3 separate regions of the Homo sapiens genome follow, and regions 1 and 3 are each linked to region 2. The links are contacts of gene promoters, found by promoter capture Hi-C in human tissues and cell types (Jung and others, 2019). All regions are on one chromosome and are shown on one strand. Each heading gives the region's core, a stretch centred on a gene start or on the middle of the fragment in contact. The rest is flanking DNA. Distances are from core to core; before and after follow the strand shown.

Region 1 (3,506 bases), core at 445-2,944, 370 kb after region 2:
TCCTGAGCCAGCCTCTGCTTGTCAGAACACACTCTTCCTGCAAGCATGGTTTCCACGGGCCCCTGCTATGGCAGCCACAGCCTCACATCGTGAAGAACACACTCTTCCTGCAAGCACGGTTTCCACGCTCCCCTGCTGTGGCAGCCACAGCCTCACATCATGAGGATGATACGCAGCCATTCAAGGGATAACCTCTAAGGACAGCCTGGCATGTCTGAACTCACTTCTCTTCCCACTGCCAGTTGAGCCTTGCCTTCTAGCTCAGTCAGCACTGGGAGACTAGGCTACTCAATCTGGTGGTCTTTTGTTTCCAGCTCTCCCCAATATCCCTATTGTGCATTCCTCATGCCCCATACTCTCCTTGACTTCCCCTAATTGACCCCAACTTGTGTCCTACATCCTTCATCTCCCCAGACCTGACCTAATGATTGGAGAGAGGAAGCAGGATGTTGAGCGAGGGAAGCTGAATTTCTCCTGCACTGGAGCCTGGCTGCAGAACCTGAGGAAGTAGGAGGGATGAAGAAGCAAGAAAGCTTCCAGCAACCTTTAGTCAGCCTCAAGAAGTCTCCGGCTAGGAGGCAATGCTAAACCAGGACAACCTAGAGATACCCTGGCTGGCCAGGGCTTCCTAAAAAAGACGTGTTGCTGGGTGGTTGCGTTGCCTTAAGAACACACCCATTACCCAGTGAATCTGCCGTGAGTCAGAGAGACGCCCCTGAAGACACATTACCTGGAGGAGATAAGCTCCCCAGCCTCCCCCACAGCCATTCCCCAGTCTCTTCTCTTCAGCTTCTTCATTTCTCCTCCTTCCAGTCTGGCCACTGGCTCAGGCCACAGCGGACACCCTGTTCACAGCCTGCATCACCCTCCTGAGACAGAACCTTCTCCAAGTGTTTGCCTTTGGGCAGGTCCCAAGGTACCACCTGGAGCTGCTGGAAAGGGTAGTCCTGACAGCAACCCCCTGGTGATCCGGTCCTTGCTAGCTCCTCCCCCGGCCTCCCTGTAATGCTGGGTGCAGAGGGATGCACCAGGGAGCTGCGTGTAAGTGGTGAACAGGAGAGCGTCTGGGTGACTGAACGGGGAGAAGGGAGGGGAAAGGATGGGAGAGGCTGAAGCAAACATCTTTGAGGAAAACGGGTAATGACGGAGCTGGTAGACAATGGTGAGAGAAGGAAGGGTGACACTGAAAGTAGTCATGCTCCTTTTTATTTAATTGAGATCTTCTTTTTCTCTTTTTGCCAATTAATAATATGTTTTGGTCTGGGGGATGCTTGGGAAGGCCCCATTGTTCAAAATATCTCTTTCAGGAACCTGGAACACCACCATTTGAGACTCACTTCTTTAGGTCTTGAGGGCTTTTTGGTCTTTGAGATGCTTTTGTGTAAAGTTAATGCACCTCCAGTGCCCTCTGAACAAAGGCCGGTGAACGTGGACTAAGCTTCCCTGGCCATCCTTGTCTCCTGCAGCTTACCCTCCTCCCCGCCCCAACCTGAAGGAGTAGCTCCCTCCCCGTTGAGAGCTCCATGGCTACGCCTAATTTACATCACCCTCCCCAAGCTGGAGGAGTAGTTCCCTCCCCATCCCAGAGCTCCATGGCTTTGCCTAATTTACATGACCCTCCCCACGCTGGAGGAGTAGTTCCTTCCCCGTCCCAGAGCTCCATGGCTATGCCTCACTTGCCTCACTGGGCCCAAGCTGTCCTGGAAGGGAGGAAGCTGCGGATGTGTCTGTTCCCTTCCTTGGGCTGTGAGCACCTGGATGGCAGGGACTACAGAGACCCCAGGGGGTGGAGGGGGTGAAAAGCAAGTTTCACATGTCCTGTTTGGCCTGAGACCAGGCCCCTACCTGACTTATGCTCCAGGTCGCAGACAGACCAATTCCACAGCAGAGGAATCTATTTCAACGTTGTATCAGACTCCAGTCTAGGAAGCAGACCACACTGAGTGAGTATATCAGTCAGAGTTCCCCAAAGAAACAGAACCAGTCTATATACAGTGGTGTGTGTGCGCGTGTGTGTGTGTGTGTGTGTGTGTGTGTGTGTGTGTGTGTGTGGAGAGAGAGAGACAGAAAGAGAGAGTTTAGAAATTGTCTCATACGACTGTAGAGGCTTTGTCAGAGGCATTTGAACCACAGCAACTCCATCTTGAATAGGGGCTGGGTAAAATAAGGCCAAGACCTACTGGGCTGCATTCCCAGATGGTTAGGCATTCTAAGTCACAGGATGAGATAGGAGGTCACAAGATACACGTCATAAAGACCTTGCTGATAAAACAGGTTGCAGTAAAGGAGCCGGCTAAATCCCACCAAAATCAAAATGGCCATGAGAGTGACCTCTGGTGGTCCTCACTGCTACACTCCCACCACCGCCATGACAGTTTACAAATGTCATGGCAACATCAGGAAGTTACCCTAAATTGTCTAAAAAGGGGAGGCATGAATAGTCCACCCCTAGTTTAGCATATCATCAAGAAATAGCCAAAAAAAAAAAAAAAAAAAAAAAGCAACCAGCAGCCCTCAGGGCTGTTCTGCCTATGGGGTAGCCATTTTTAAAAATCATTTACTTTCCTAATGAACTAGCTTTCATTTTACTCTATGGACTTACCTTGAGTTCTTCCTTGCATGATATCCAAGAACCTGCTCCTGGGGTCTGGATTGGGACCCCTTTCCTGTAACAGCATGGTAAGTCCAAAATCTGTAGAGTAGGCTAAGACCCTGGAGACTCAGGGAGGAGTTACAGTTTGAATCTGAAGGCAGTCTGCTTGCAGAATTTCTTCCTTTCCTGGGGAAGTCAGTCTTTTTCCATTAAGGCCTTTAGCTGATTGGAAGAAATCCACCCAGATTATAGAGGTAACTGCTTTACTCAAATTCCATCAGTCAAATCTCATTCAAAAAACACCTTCACAAAAACAACCAGAATAATGTTTTGAGGTAGGATTTTTGTTCTTGGTCACTTTGCAAGCTGGAAACCCCCAGCTGGCGATGTCCTGTCCAGACCTCCCTCAGCCAGGCTGGCATGCCCCAGCTTGCCTGTGTTATAGGTTGTACCTGCATTCAATGGTTCCCGAGCTCTTGTACCACACCAAGAAGAATGAGGATATACTGGACATTGAAGGGTGATGGGGGTGGAGAAGAATTTTATTGAGTGACGGAATGGCTATCAGCGGAGAGGGGACATAGGGGGTGGCCCCCCAGCCCCACAGTCGGGTGGTTCTCACCTCCCCAAGTGGCTGGGTCTGGGGCTTTTTATGGGCTCAGAATAGGGGAGGGGCAGGCCATAGGTAGTATTGGAAAAGGCAACATTCAACTGGTTAAAAGGCATTATTCAGAAAGAATCAATCAGGAAAGGGTGGGCAAACAGGAACAGAAGTTCTAAGTCTGAGTCGTGGGTTTCGTCTGGGACCAGCAGTCCAGCCTTTCAGCTCTGTTTTTGGCTGGAAGGTGGGGTTTCACCAGGGACCCACCCCCACCTGCCAATGCATTTGGCTGCATCCCGTGGCTATCAGTTT
Region 2 (3,665 bases), core at 614-3,113:
AATATAAGGAATTACCTCCTTTATTGCTTACAAGTGCAAAAGGTACCTAAATCCAACACCACCCTCAGAAGTAACGTCCTTCTAAAACTCCCCATTAAGTTCCTTAATGACGCAAAATAGAAGCCACAGCAATACCAATCCAGCCTGGCCAACATGGGGAAACCCATTCTCTAGTAAAAATACAAAAATTAGCCGGGCGTGGTGGCACACCCCTGTAAGCCCAGCTACTCAGGAGGCTGAGGCAGGAGAATCGCTTGAGCCAGGAGGCAGAGGCTGCAGCGAGCCAAGATCGCGCTACTGCCCTCCAACCTGGGCAACAGAGACTCTTGTCACAAAAACAAAAAAACAATACCAAGTACTTCAGCTAAATCTTTTGTTTATTATTTCAATAGGATAATGAGGCCAGGCGCGGTGGCTCAAGCCTGTAATCTCAGCACTTTGGGAGGCCGAGGTGGGCGGATCACCTAAGGTCAGGAGTTTGGGACCAGCCTGGCCAACATGGCAATACCCTGTCTCTACTAATAATACAAAAACTAGCCGGGCGTGGTGGCCGGCGCCTGTAATCCCAGCTACTCGGGAGGCTGAGACAGGACACTTGCTTGAACCCGGGAGGCGGAGGTTTCGGTGAGGGAGACCAAGTCACTGCATTCCAGCCTCGGCAACAGAGCAAGACTCCGTTATATAAAAAAGAAAATGAGGCAGATCTCAAAAACCCAAAACCTACCAGTGTCATAAACTTACTTCTTTGCTTTATATACATAAGCGCATCTCTTGCCCAAATAGAATTCTGTTTCATCTCGGGCGTAAACACCTTCAATTTTAAGAAGAGCTGTGTGCTCCCTTTGGTTCCGGAGACCCCGCTTATAGCCAGCAAAAATGGCCTTGGACCACAGCCTAAGACACAAAAGATACACAACATGAAACATAAGCTTCAAAAAACCAATCTGACTTGTAATCACCCCCACCCAAAAGTTACTCAGAGCAAACATCTAAGTTTTTTCTTGCCAATTTTAAGCTCGCATTTACGTTCACGTCTAACACACAAAAATAAAGAACTATATTTAAAACGCGTACCTTCCAGACATAGTTCCTTTTAGAAGTCCCGTTCCCAGCAGGCCTTAAAACAAACAAAAAGATTAGTTTAAAACCAAGCCACACAAGTTTCCCACCTCGTCCCCTCTCGTTTAAGCCCCTAAAGCAAATTCCTTTTGGATGGGAGTTTCATGTAGGAGTTCGGGGACAACAATGCCAGAACATCCATATGAAACGCAGGGTCCGGCAAGACATTCAAACCTCAGAGAACAGCTGGTATCTAAGCAAACTTCAGAATGAAGACAAAACTAAGGGACAGGAGTCACAAAAATGACTCTCAGAAAAGCCTGAGAAAATGCATGCCGTTATCAGTAGGCAACACTCAGGAAAAGAAATGAAGCCTTAAAGAGAAACACACACGTAAGACTTTTATGCAATGGCTGGGGGAGAAAAGCTGAGGAAAGAGACTGGTCAGACAAGCCAAGGAAGGTATGGACTGGGAGGAAACGGATGAAGGAAGCACTGCCTCATGGACAACTGCACACGAACAAAAACATCGTTTCACTCCGTTCAGGCCCAGGAATTTAACTGGGATAACCCGGGCAGCCGTTCTCCGGGTGTCAGGGGACCAAACACCATCAGCCCAACATCTCCTCCATCCTGTTCTCCCTCTTCTTGAAACCCGTAGAAATCAATGGCTGGCAGAGACTCCGATACGCACCGGCGACTCGCCAAGGCACAGGAACAAACCTACTCCGGTTATTTGCCCCCAAATTTCAGCAGCAGACCCTTCACTCACCTCCACAGGAGCCAAGATGGCGGTAAGAGAAGGACGAGGCCCCGCCGCGTGGCCTTGTGGGATTAAACATCTTTCGACTCCGCCCTCAATTTAGGCATCTTCTCCAAACGCCAGAAAAACAATCCTCGGAAATCGGCTTCGCACTGAAATAAGCCACATTCAATAGCACTCTTACAATTATTTTCCTAAGTCCTTTCATCTTGGTAGGCTGCAAAATGTACTACTTGGGAACAAGGGAAGGCAAAATGGTAGCCAGCTAAATCCGCCAAAGCTGTGCGTTGCCATAGAAACAACTTAGTTTACTTCCTGCGTCCCCGGACGCCGTAGGTGGAAAGGCGAACCCTGAGTGGAGGATGTTCCCGCTGCCTAAAGAATGATTGACTGTAAGATTGATTTGCCAACAGTGGGGTGCTTTTCTCTCGATACACACAGCAATAGACAGAACGGAAATTCTGGGATCCTAATCTAGCATGGAAGAGAAAGGCCGGGAGCACGAAGGCAGCAGGACCTCTTCCTTCTCTTTTTTCTTTTTCTATACTTCTTTTCTCCCCTCTACTTATTTATCTCTTTCAAGAAATGAGACTGGGCACAGTGGCTCACGCCTGTAAACCCAGCTCTTTGGGAAGCCGAGGCGGGAGGATCGCTTGAGGCCAGGAGTTCGAGACCAGCCTGGGCAACATAGTGAGACCACCTCCCCCAACCTCTACAAAAGAAAAAAAAAATGAATGAAATGACTTAAGTTCTTACCTCCATTCTTCTTTTTGGATCCGAGGTATGAGGAGGACTGCCTGCAGGAGGCTTTATCGCCCTTTTAGGAGAACTCGTTTAGCTGCCTCGTGTCCGCACCTAGTAGGTCCTCCGTAGATACTTGTAGAGGTGGATTAGTGGACGCCAGAGATTCACATTTCCGAATTATTGCATATTTATTTGGGTTATCCTATGGATTCATTCATTTATTTAACACATAGTTTAATGAATGACTACCCTGTACCAAGGTTTGTGTAAGATGACACGGCAGTAAACAAATCTATGCCCTCGTGGAGCTTATATCCTACGAGGCGGAGCAACACAATGAGCAAGTAAAAATAGATGACACGTTAGAAGATGATAATTTCTGTGAAGAAAATTAAGCAGAGAGGCCACTGTAAAAGAGGCTTTCCCCACTTTGAGATGGGAAGTATGTAAAAGAGGCTTCCCCTGCTTTGAGATGGGAACTATTTAAGGGTCCTGAACAGAAGGGTGACTCTATCTGACTTCTATATTGACAAAGTCACTGTGTTGAAAGTGAAGGGAGGCAAGGGTATCAGCAGGAAGATAATTATAGGTTCCTGTAGTGACTATGATGAGAGGTGATGGTGTGTAAACAGAGGATATTGAGTACTGGAATTCTGAATATATTTAAATTCTGGCAAGATTTGCTGGTGGATGAGGAATGAGAGAGAGTAAAGTATGACTCCGAAGTTGTATGAAATAGATGTATATAAGTCACTTTTAAAATCAGATCCTCTCTTAAATACAACAGGATAGAACTTGTACCTTGTAGCCTACTACCCCACCCAGTGTTCCCTGTCCCAGAAAGAAATGTGCTAGAAATTTCACTATTAGATATTGATTTGTCAAAGTTCTATATGGAAGTCCTCCTGGGAGGAATAACACATTAAGTGTGAGTTTCATTCGTTTGCTCGTGTATTATTCGTTCCACAAATACTTATTGAGCACTGAGACTTAGCACCTGATACAACTGTGAGCATCGTTGTCATGTTGCTGCTTTCATGGAACAGTTGTCTAGTGGGGGGAAACTGACACTAACGTAACAAATTGTGAACACAGCTCT
Region 3 (3,480 bases), core at 795-3,294, 470 kb after region 2:
CAAATGAGGGAGGCGTGACAACAAACACAAATGAACGAGTATTAAAATGGCTGATTCTTCTAAGTACACTGATGAAATTGAACAGGGTCATGTAACATTCCAGTTCTTACCTGAAGGAAGAGAAGCTCATTGTGGGAGAGGTAGACAGCAGCCAGGTCGCCTAGGGTCTCGGGATGCTGTATGGGAAAATGGGTTGTCATAGAGCCAGGGTGGCCACGGACAGACCTAACTGAGTTGTTTGAATGGATGCTGGTGGCTTGGAAGCACATGGCAGCAATGAAGAAGGAGTGAAAGTGGACAGATTCGAGATACCTTGTGATGGCTGAGCCAGAAGGTCTTGCCGATAGGTTGGCTGTGGAGATGTGAGAAAGAGAGGAATCGAGGAGGAGTCTAGGCTTTTGGCTTAAGCCAAAACCATTTATTTTATTGAAATGGGGAACATTAGTGGGGGCGTATGTTGGGGATGAGAGGGAAGGAACCGAGAGTTCTGTTAGGGTTGAGATGCTTGTTAGATATCTTTGTGAAGACGCCAAGCAAGCCATTGGCTATGTGAGTCCAAAAGTCAAAGTCCAGTGTCCTTCACCCTGTCTGGTGATGAGATCTTTCCAAATATCCAGGCCTGCAGTGAGATTGGAGAGTTTCTTCCTTCCTGTTGGAATATTTCTTTCTCCAGCTGGGTAGATACCCGCTGGGAGTCCCTGGATAACTGCTAATGCCAAGAAACTTGCTAAGTAGCACTGAAGTTTTCAAATTTCTTCACAAAGTATATTGTGCTTCCAAAGCTTCCTGTGGTGTCTTCGGAGCTGTGTCTAGCTGCATCAGCAGAGCTGCGTCTCTTGGGGCTTCCAGGATAAGCTGGGTGGAAGGATGGGGAGAGCTGTAGGTGACCCTGGACCGTATTCCCAGGACTCCAGGCTCCCAGCTGTTTGGCCAATTAAAGAAGAAACCTTCTGCTTTGTACAGACCCACTTCCCACACAAAGAGCTCGGGGGAGAACAAAAAGAGCCAGCAATGCCTGCACTCTGGGAAGGCTGAGCCTCACGCAAGGGTGCTGACTCAGAAGCAGCAGTTGCTTGCCCTAGGAGCCTGCAGTCGTTGGCACAATCAAAAATCAATTAAAACATGCCATTCTGCTTTGCTCACCCTATGCCAGCCTCTCCAGGCACTTCCCCTCATTTTCAGCTCCTCCCAGAGTTCTTTGCTGCCTAATTAACTTGGAGTCCAATAGCCTGAGCAGGAGGCAAGCTGTACAGGAGTGAGGAGCATTGAACCAGGAGCCTAAGCCTCAGGACCTGCTTTGGCTGCACTGTAACTATTCCTGGGACTGTCAGCAAATCATTTAACTCCCTGGGCCTTGGGTGCCTCAACTATGAAACAGGTGGTGATTGTCTACCTTCCTGTCCAGGTGTTTTGGGGAATAATCTTGAGAGTAAAGAATGTATGGCCAGGTGCGGTGGCTCATGCCTGTAATCCCAACACTTTGGGAGGCTGAGGTGGGTGGATCACGAGGTCAAGAGATCAAGACCATCCTGCCTAACATGGTGAAACCCTGTATCTACTTAAAATACAAAAATTAGCTGGGCGTGGTGGCAGGCATCTGTAATCCCAGCTACTCAGGAGGCTGAGGCAGGAGAATCGCTTGAACCCAGGAGGTGGAGGTTGCAGTGAGCCAAGATTGCACCATTGCACTCCAGCCTGGGTGACACAGAGAGACTCCGTCTCAAAAAAAAAAAAAAAAAAAAAAGAATGTATGTGGCCACACTCTTGTAAATTGTAAATTCCTGTTTAAATTTAATAGATTCTATGATATCTAACATATACAATATGACAAAACACATTTTAACCTACATTTAAAAGGAATTCTAAAAAAGTATTCCTTCTTTTTTAGTTGCAAAATTGTTTGGAGGGAATAAGTCAACAATCTACAAACTTACCAAGTTTCTCACAGCTGACACCATTTCTCTTTGGTCTCAGTGGCCCAGAGCAGGAGCTCTAACTGGGTGCGCCGGAATGACTGCAGCGGCGCGTTCCAGGAGCCTCTAAGGAAAGGTTGCCAGATTAAGCAAATAAAAATACGGGATGGGCCAGGCACAGTGGCTCACGCCTGTAATTGCAGCACTTTGGGAGGCTGAGATGGGAGGATTGCTTGAGTCCAGGAGTTTGAGACCAGCCTGGGCAATATAGTGAGACTTTGTCTCTACAAAAAATAAACAAAATTAGCCAGGTATGGTAGTGCAAACCTGTAGTCCCAGCTACTCAGGAGACTAAGGTGGGAGGATCACTTGAGCCTGGGAGGTCGGGGCTATAGTGAAACATTATTGCACCACTGCACTCCAGACTGGGTGACAGAGGGAGACCCTGTCTCAAAAACAAACAAACAAACAAACAAAAAACAGGATATCCACTTAAAATGAATTTCAGATAAATGATGAATAATTTTTTGTATGAGTATGTCCCAAATATTGCATGGGATAAACGTATACTACTTTCATTGTTTACCCGAAATTCAAATTTATCTGGGTGTCTTCTATTTCATCCGGCAGCTCTCCAGGATGCCTGGGCAGCATGAAGCAGAAGACTCGGCCACTTGAATCCCCAATATGCCTCACCCATGTCTCCAGGAGACAGCCCTGCCTTCAGGGGAGGGTCTCCTTGCACTTCAAGCTCTTTGGATTAAGAAATGGTTTATAGGCTGGACGCAGTGGCTCACGCCTGTAATCCCAGCACTTTGGGAGGCCAAGGTGGGTGGATCACTTGAGGTCAGGAGTTCAAGACCAGCCTGGCCAACATGGTGAAACCCCGTCTCTACTAAAAATACAAAAAGTATCTGGGCATGGTAGTGGGCACCTGTAGTCCCAGCTACTCAGGAGGCTGAGGCAGGAGAATCACTTAAACCTGCGAGGTGGAGGTTCAGTGAGCCAAGATCGTGCAACTGCACTCCAGCCTGGGTGACAGACGAGGCTCTGTCTCAAAAAAAAAAAAAAAAAAAAAAAAGTCTATCTTTAATAACTCAACACATATAGACTGTCTCAAAAAAAAAAAAAAAGAGATGGTATATCTTTTATAAGTCAACACATATATTTGATGGCTGCCCATGAGCAGAAGAGCATTGTCTAAATGTGTAAGACAATAGGTCTGGCCACCAGAGACTTGAACCTCAGAGAGGTTTAATGGAAGCTTTAATGGAAGGAGAGGACACCAAACTCACAGGAAACAACAAGATAGACGGTTAGGGTGAGGAGGGTGTTCGCTGGGCGGGGAGGACGAGGATAAAACCAGGAGATGAGGAACCAGGGGCTCCTCATCCCACAGCACATCCCCCTCCCCACTGACCGGGCACTCGGCACTCAGCCCTGCTCTTTGTCTTGTCCTTACACAGTTCTTCCCTGCAAGGTCCACACCCTGGAGCCAGTAATGGGCTTTGGATGCAGGCTTTTCAGTGAGGGAGTGGGAAGCAGTGAGGAGAATGACCTGAGACGG

The links. The method cuts DNA at HindIII sites, captures the fragments that hold promoters and counts their contacts. A contact is called where the count stands out against the background at its distance.
Region 1: a contact is called between a fragment that was not itself captured here and the fragment with the promoter of RPL35A in region 2, in 1 of the 25 tissues and cell types used here (IMR-90 fibroblasts).
Region 3: a contact is called between a fragment that was not itself captured here and the fragment with the promoter of RPL35A in region 2, in 1 of the 25 tissues and cell types used here (lymphoblastoid cells).

What each region holds. Positions count from the first base shown.
Region 1 is chr3:197,575,080-197,578,585 of GRCh38, reverse strand. No RefSeq gene overlaps it. Among named protein-coding and RNA genes, the nearest start is that of BDH1, 21 kb to the right of the region's middle. RefSeq lists an enhancer at 1,745-2,246. The HindIII fragment of the contact is 3,172 bases long and covers 109-3,280 here.
Region 2 is chr3:197,948,388-197,952,052 of GRCh38, reverse strand. It overlaps RPL35A (ribosomal protein L35a), which reads right to left and starts at 1,863. Exons shown (of 5, transcript NM_000996.4): 1 at 1,832-1,863; 2 at 1,075-1,117; 3 at 742-894. The coding sequence starts at 1,085. The region is part of intron 2 of DRC9 (dynein regulatory complex subunit 9); the gene reads left to right. RefSeq lists enhancers at 1-595, 1,379-2,161, 2,241-2,460. The HindIII fragment of the contact is 11,846 bases long and covers 1-3,665 here.
Region 3 is chr3:197,476,563-197,480,042 of GRCh38, reverse strand. It overlaps LOC105374309 (a long non-coding RNA gene), which reads right to left and starts at 2,057. Exons shown (of 2, transcript XR_924902.1): 1 at 1,935-2,057; 2 at 392-855. RefSeq lists an enhancer at 546-1,745. The HindIII fragment of the contact is 3,417 bases long and covers 336-3,480 here.